2 separate regions of the Homo sapiens genome follow, and region 2 is linked to region 1. Evidence: promoter capture Hi-C in 16 types of primary human blood cells and fetal thymus (Javierre and others, 2016). All regions are on one chromosome and are shown on one strand. The core of a region is centred on a gene start or on the middle of the fragment in contact, and the rest is flanking DNA. Distances in the headings are between cores, read along the strand shown.

Region 1 (3,785 bases), core at 884-3,383:
GAAGCATCCCTGTTCCTCTCCAAGGTCAACCCTCCCTGTTTCCTTATATCTTCTGATGGATTTCACTCCTATATAGGTCAAGCAAGCCTCCTCTCTCCTGGATCACCCATCTTTCTTCCCCACCATATCCCTCCCAATGGCACATAAACATGCTCTGGGAACCCTACCATCTTTTATTTTATTTATTATTATTTTTTGAGATGGAGTCCCGCTTTGTTGCCCAGGCTGGAGTGCTGTGGCCCAATCTTGGCTCTCTGCAACCTCTGCCTCCCGGGTTCAAGCAATTCTCCTGCCTCAGCCTCCCCAGTAGCTTGGATTACAGGCGCGCGATACCATGCCCAACTAATTTTTGTATTTTTAGTAGAGACCGGGTTTCACCATATTGGCCAGGCTGGTCTCGAACTCCTGACCTCAGGTGATCCACCTGCCTTGGCCTCCCAAAGTGCTAGGATAACAGGCGTGAGCCACTGCGCCCGGCCCCTACTATCTTTTAAAAGATTTCTTTCTATATCTATCCCCAAACTTATCTGGTCCCTTCACAGCAAAACCTCTCTCAAATTGCATACATGTGCTGTCTCCATTTCCTCACTTTCCTGGTGACTGTTTAACCCATTCCGGTCAGGTCCACCTCCCTGATATACTCACGTGAATCAAGCCAAGGCCATCAGTGACATTCTCCAGTGACTTGCAAGGTGACCCAATCCAATAGCCACATCTCTGGCCCAAGTTTATCACACCGCTCAGCTGATGCCTCCTACCTGAAACCTTCTCTGCCCAGGGATTCCACAACTCAGCGCTAGCTTTCATGACTTCCTAGATGCTGCCTTTCAGACTCCTTCTCCATTACCCTCCCAATATTGGAGTGCCCCAGGATTTGGCCATGGAATTTCTCTTCACTCTTTCCTCCAAGCCAAGCCAGGGGTCGTAAACTGACAGCTCATCTGTGTGGTTTAATCAGCTCATGAAGTTTAAAAACATCTGATTCAGTTGCTAACATCTAAAAACTCTGGAGATTTGACATCTTAAAAATACAGATTTTTTTATTCCTTTAGGGGAAAAAAAAAGAGTATGTTATTGGGCCAGCATTCTCACAACGGAACGGTCAGATGGATGGAGAAGAAGCTGCTCCCTAGATATTGGGTCCATTTGATATCTAAGGGAAGAGTCATATTCCCTGTAAGTACCAAAAGGCTCTCATCCCAGAGCCACCAGCACCTTGCAGTCAGTTCTTGGTCAACTTGACTGCAGGTTGGGAAGGGTCCGCAGGCGCCTCCTGGGGAGGGGTGGGACTGAAGGTCTCCGCCCACAGAGAACAGCTCTCCCGCAAAGACAAGAAATGCACGTTTCCACAGAATTACACAGCGCTAAATACAGAAACTCCTTTCAGTAAAAAGCGATTGCTATGAACGTGTTAAAGCATCAAGTCTGGTTTTCCGCCACCTCTCCGGGCTGAGGTGGCCTGGGGACACCAAGAGGAGGCCCTCCCACTCTCCTCTCGCACCCGCTTTTAGGTGGCCCTCTTCTAGGGCGGAGAGATCACCAAAAGCCGCTGAGCAAGGACAGCCCTTCCAGTCGTCGCTCGCGGGCACGGAGCTGGGAGCGCGCGGGAACCGACCGGGCCTTACTCTGGGGCGGGCAGCTGTAAGACATTCGGAGGGCGGGTCGGGCCTGGCTGGGGCGGAGACTGGGCGGGGCCGGGCCCGGGAGCCTCCTCAGCCCCACTGGCTTGCCCCGCGCGCGCTTCCTCCAGCCACCCCCACTTCCCCAACCCTGTACGGGTTCAGGGGGCCGGAGACAGCAGCTAGGGAATAAGGTCAAGCGGACTGGATCCGGCACCGCCCAGGGGCGGCGGCCTCCGCCCAGGAAGCCCCACCCAGCGGGAGCCAGGACGCCGCGGCGCCGGCAGAGCCCACGAGCGACCCGGCGAGGGCGCGTGCGGCGTGACGACGCGACTCGCGGCGCGTCCCGTGACGCCATCGCGCCCGCTTTTGAAAGTTGGCGCCCGGGGCCGCCTCCCATGCTGCCCTGCGCCAACCCCTCCCCTCACCTTTCCTCCCCCGCCCTCTACTCGCCGCCCGGCCGGTCCCCCCACCCGTCCCTTCCCTTATCAGCACCCGCGGCCCCGGCAGCGCCGACGCAGGCGCACTGCACCGCGCCGCCGCCATTTTGTGTCTGAGCCTGTGGAGCGATTAAACCGTGCGCGGAGCTGCTTCTTTGGCGGCAGCGGCGGCGGCGGTGGCCGGTGCGGACGCGCGGAGCTCGCCGGAGACGCCGGGTGGCCGGAGCCGTGGAGCGGCGGCGGAGCGGGCGCCGCGGGGGGTGTGGCGCGGAGGTAAGGGGGCCCGGGGTGGAGGAGGTTTCGCGGGCCGCCTCTAGGTGTCACGATGGGGCCGCTCCGGTCGGCGCTGGCTGCAGCCCGGCGCCAGCGCCGCCGCCGGGGGGTGTTTGTCTCCCTCTACCGTCCCTGCTGCGGCGCGGCCGCCGCCATTGCCCGTCGCCGCCGTGGCCCGGCCGCCCCCCCCACCCCCACGCCCGCCCGCCCGCCCGCCCGCTAGGCCTCCCTCCTGGCAGCGCGCTAGGCCTCGGGCGGCGGCAGAGGCAGAGGCCCGCGCGCCCGGCGACTCCATTTTCCTTCCTTTGTCTGCCCTCGAGGCCGGTTCTTGGCCGGCCGATCGCCCGGCCGCGGCCCGCCCTCTGTCCTGTGTCCTCCGCCCCTCCCGCGGCGGGTGGCCCCAGCTGAGACACTATCTCCGCGTCCCGGCTTCGGCGCCCGCCTAGCTTAAGGGTTCGGACCGACTGCCGCCGCGCGCTAAGCCAGGTCCCGGTGCCGTATGGGTGTCGGGCCCTGGCCGTCGCGTCTCGGGCTGCCCCTCCTCCAGCCAGCCCCGTCCCCGGAACCTACCCTGCCGGCCTGCGTGCCTTCCCAGCTGCTTGGCTGCTCGGCGGTCGCTCCCAGTCCGCGCGTCGCCGCCGCTGGTCTCCGTCTCCGCCGAGTGGCGCAGGCGGCGCTGCAGCGGCTGCGAGCAGAGGGACCCCAGAGCTGCCGAGAGCTCCCTCTGCAAGGCTGGCTGAGCTGCTCGCACCTCTACGCTGCCTGAGCGGGCGGGGGGACGCGCGCTCGCCGCCCCCGCTGCGCCCCCAAACTCGCGCCCGGGTTCCTGGCCGGACCCGACCGGTGCGGCCCCCCCACGGTGGGCGGAAAAGATGCGAGTTCCGCACCAAGTAGTTTTTATCCAGCCGGGTTCGGACTCCCCAGCCGAGTGATAGCAGCCTGACTTTGTGCGCTCAGAGATCTCAAAGGGACTGAAACTTAAATTTCATTCTGATCTCAAGTGACGTGACAAATTTCTGAATTTGGGAGTATGGGCTAAGTCCCTTGAGTTTCCCTCCCGCTTTAAAATGTCCTCACACTAACTTAGTACCTGATGCTCTAGGGCTAGGTGAAGGCGGTTCTGCCCCAGGATTGTGCAACTCGATCTAGAGCGCCAGTAGGGCAGAATGAGTTTATTCTTGACTCGACTGGTAATTTGCCCATGCGATGAAATATGAGGGTTGATGTTGTAATTGAATCCTGGGTCACTTGCTGCAGATGGTTTATAAATATCTACGCCTAATGTAACTACTGTTTAGTAGGAGACTTCCTGTAGCCCCGAGTTCAGCGTTAAGTAAACATTCGCATACGTAGTCTTCATACTTTGAGTTTCGATCAACTAGGAAAGTTAAAAACCAAGTCCTCATAGGTGGGAAAGGAAGTTAAACAAGGCATATATTTAAATTTATTCGGT
Region 2 (3,785 bases), core at 720-3,219, 510 kb after region 1:
TCAGCTAATTTTTTATTTTTTTAATAGAGATGAGGTCTCCCTATGTTGCCCAGGCTGGGAATGGCCTTTTCTAAACCAGTTTCTTCTCATTGAGAGGTTGATGGTAGTGCCAAGGGCATATCCCTATAAAAGAAAATGAAGAGTTCACTTGCCTTATCTCTTTGGCACAACCCTGGAACTCTGTGGGACTCTGATCAGCTGCACATGTCTGCAGGGAGAGACAGTGAGTGGTCCTCAAATTCTTCAGTGAATTGGGTCTGAACAGAGGGTGCAGTCTTTGCCCAGAGCAGAGTTCCACCCTCCTCTTCAGTCCTAGGGTTCATACCTGCCTAGGAGTGCCTGTGGCTGCCATGGTATGTGAGTGTTTCCATGGCTGTGCAAGCTAGGATGGTAAGATGCCCTGAGGTCTGCGTCCAGAGCTGGGCAGCCTTTGTCCTATTTCCTGTTCAATGCTGCAGCCCTCACTCCCTGGTTCTGGTGTCCTGCTGGGCAAGTTGGTGACCACCAGCTCTCCAATGGTCTGGGATAGCTCCATGGCAAGGGAGGGCTTGCCCCAGCCCAGGTCAGCTATCCAGCTTTTTGGCCAGCTGGCAAGTCTGGCCAAGAAGACGTGCTGAACAGTGCTGAGCTTGCTCACTGGGTGAAAGGTGATATTATCATTCCTGCTGAGCCATCTCTTGGCAGCTCCTCAAGAGGGTGTGCTATCACAGAGAAAGGGAGCGGCTTTCAAGCATAGGCAGGGCTGCTTCTGGTCCAGCCAGGTGCCTTCTTCCCAGACAAGCTGAGTCAAGGACTTGCCACCAGCCGGGGCGCCCCGACTTACTTCCCACTTTGTCCTGAGCGTGCCGTGGCACTTTCCCAGCCACTGAAGTCATAGGCCCACGTGGAGTTACTAGAGCAGCATAGGGGGTGGGGGATGGGAGGGTGTCCTGGAGGGCTGGGGAAGGCCACCTTCACCCAATACTGCTCTCCTGCCCTACCTCTAGCCAGCCGACTTCCACTGGGTGTCCCAGGCAGTCAGTCATCTTGCCTCCCTGAGCCTTCATTTCACGGTCTGTGGAGTGATGGTGACAGTTGCACCTCACACTTGTATAGATAAATGTAGTCATGAGTAACCCATGTGAACTAAATGATGCTGTGTTTTACCCACGTAGGGGGAAGTTAGAGGCTATTCAAGATGTGGGAAGGGAAGGTGCCCATTCTGGTTAGAAGGAATAGAAGAATCTCACCCCTTTCCTGGCACTGGACCTGCCATGCCAGAATTTGGTGTGTTTCCCCTCCCTTCCCTGGAAGATACTTGGCAGTAGGTCCTCTGTGGTGGCTGAAGCAGGAAGGGGCTCCCGCACTTCGAGACCTCAGTCAGGCTGTCCAGGAGAATGTGTTTCTGACCGTGGTCCTTGGCTGTGACCCTCAAGCTTTGTACCACTAGCTGGAAGAGTAGATGACCAAGGTCGAAGTGGCTTTTTAATTTATTTTTATTTTTATTTTTAATTTTAGATAGGGTCTCAGTCTGTTGCCCAGGCTGGAGTGCAGTGGCATGATCATAGCTCACTACAGCCACAACTCCTGGGTGCAAGCAATCCTCTTGCCTTAGCCTCCCTAGTAGCTATGGCTACAGGTGTGTGCCAACATGCCTGGCTAATTTTCTTTTTCTTTTTTTTTTTTTTTTTGAGACAGAGTTTTGCTGTTGTCGCCCAGGCTGGAGTGCAGTGGCACGATCTTGGCTCACCGCAACCTTCGCCTCCAGGGTTCAAGCGATTCTCTTGCCTCAGCCTCCCGAGTAGCTGGGATTACAGGCACCCGCCACCACGCCCAGCTAATTTTGTATTTTTAGTAGAGACGGGGCTTCACCATGTTGGTCAGGCTGGTCTTGAACTCCTGACCTCAGGTGATCCGCCCGCCTTGGCCTCCCAAGGTGCTGTGATTACAGGCGTGAGCCACCGTGCCCAGCCGATAATTTTCTTTTTTTTAATTTTTGTAGAGTTGAGTCTTACGTTGCCCAGGCTGCTCTTGAACTCCTAGCCTCAAGCAGTCCTCCTGCATTGGCCTCTCAGAGTGCTGGGATTACAGATGTGAGCCACTGCTCCTGGCCAGTGGTGGTTCTTCTTATGGGGGTCACATTGCCTTGGCTACACATACATCTCTGGTGCCTTCTTGGAGCTCCTTTCCCTGCCATCAGAGCATAGCCCAGGCCTTAGAGCCTGCCTGGGCATCAGGCAAGTCATTTCTTTTCTCAGGCGGTGCAGTATGACAACCACTACACCAACACCAAGTACTGCTTGTGCCAGATGCTACGAGAACAGCTGGAGTCGCCCCAGGGAAGGTTGCTCCATGCTGCCCAGTCTTCCCGGGAAATTTGGTAAGAGGCACAATAAGATGTCCATCTGTCCTTGTACGCATTGCCCAAGTTTGACTTTGAGCCCTAAGCTGACTCCACCAGGGGACCAGGGACACAGCTTCTGGATGTAGATGTAGAGGAGTGGAGTGATGGTACAGCTTTGCCTCCCAGGAGGGGATTCTTTGAAAGCTTTGAAACGTCCCATCCCTGGACGGATCAGCAGAGCTCTGGGAACTAGGGTACTAGAAGGATAGAGGAATGCAAAGGAAGGGGATTTTCCATAAATGGGATAGTCACAGGCCAGGCCCCCAGGAACCAGTGGTCAGGAGAATTGGGCTGTAGCATGGAGCCTCTACCTTGAGCCTGCACTCACATCCATCACCCTGCAGTTTGAGAGACCACCTGTTGATTCTCTAGATCAGGTGCAGCTCTAGCTCAGATGGTTGACAGTTGAGGCCCTTCACAAGCTGGCCTAGCCACTGCCCCCACAGCTCCCTGTCTACCTGTCTGCTTCCAGAACTCCACACCTGTGCTTGTAATGGGTCGTCTGCCTGGAAGGCTCTCTCCCTCTCACGTGAGCTATCTGTAGCCTCCCTCTTACATAGATGCCTTTCTGAACCACTTTTGCCATTGGGGATCTATCTTCGTTTGAGTCTTCCAGCCTTCAAGATGTTTCCTAGAAGGGAAAAACCTTTGCCAGAGCCCTCTTCCCACCCTTGGCTTATGGCATTGGTTCAGTCCCTACCCCACATAACTCTGTAGCTCTGGGTGGTGCCTCAGTGTCAGCTGAGACCCATGTATAACTGCCTGTGGCTGGGCGGGAAGTGGGGAACCACTTAGTGGTCAGGCCTCTGTCTCTTCCTCCCATGGGCCCATGTGCTTGATCAGCATTGGTTAACTCAGTCACGGCTGGCTGGGGATACCATCTGTGTGCTTCCCCTCAGGAGAGAGGCTGCAGGTGGTGGGGGTGACCTTTACAACCTTTGCCACCCAGCCCAGCCTCCCTCCAGTGTCCACGCTTGGGTTCACATTCACTTTCCATCTTCCAGTCCACAGTAATCCCAGGGCTGGGCAGGGGGCACATTCTGATGGCCAGGCCCCGGTGGTGTTTTGGTGTATGTGGTAGAGGAGTTTCTCAGTGGTGGGGCCCTGGGGTCCTGCAGTACCCTGGATGCTGGCTCCGCTAAAGTGTTTGCTCTGATCTGCTTCTTCCTCCCTAGTGAGGCCTTTGGCCTTGGTGCCTTCTATGAGGAGACCACACAGGAGCTGGATGCCCAGCAGGCCAGGCTCTCAGCCAAGACTTCAGAGCAGACAGGGGAGCCAGCTGAAGATACCTCTGGTGTCATTAAGATGGCTGTCAAGTTTGACCGGTAGGTCTCCAGCTTGGCCTCAGCTTGGGCTAGGGCCAGCACCCTTGGGGTCCCACTGGGCCAGCACACTGGCTGCT

The links. Contacts are between HindIII fragments. The CHiCAGO score rates a contact against its expected background, and 5 or more counts as called.
Region 2: a fragment that was not itself captured here is called in contact with the fragment with the promoter of CTCF in region 1 in 2 of 17 cell types (naive B cells and total B cells); the score reaches 6.5 in naive B cells.

The regions. Positions count from the first base shown.
Region 1 is chr16:67,560,393-67,564,177 of GRCh38, forward strand. CTCF (CCCTC-binding factor) reads left to right here and starts at 2,134. Exons shown (of 12, transcript NM_006565.4): 1 at 2,134-2,332. CTCF-DT (CTCF divergent transcript) reads right to left here and starts at 1,917. Exons shown (of 1, transcript NR_158165.1): 1 at 1,019-1,917. LOC124903703 (a long non-coding RNA gene) reads right to left here and starts at 3,058. Exons shown (of 2, transcript XR_007065094.1): 1 at 2,903-3,058. RefSeq lists enhancers at 1,226-1,275, 1,296-1,345, 2,490-3,352 and silencers at 1,576-2,585, 3,106-3,205. The HindIII fragment of the contact is 5,949 bases long and covers 1-3,785 here.
Region 2 is chr16:68,071,797-68,075,581 of GRCh38, forward strand. It overlaps DUS2 (dihydrouridine synthase 2), which reads left to right. Exons shown (of 17, transcript NM_017803.5): 13 at 2,238-2,359; 14 at 3,559-3,708. Among named protein-coding and RNA genes, the nearest start is that of NFATC3, 12 kb to the right of the region's middle. RefSeq lists an enhancer at 3,526-3,635. The HindIII fragment of the contact is 1,112 bases long and covers 1,414-2,525 here.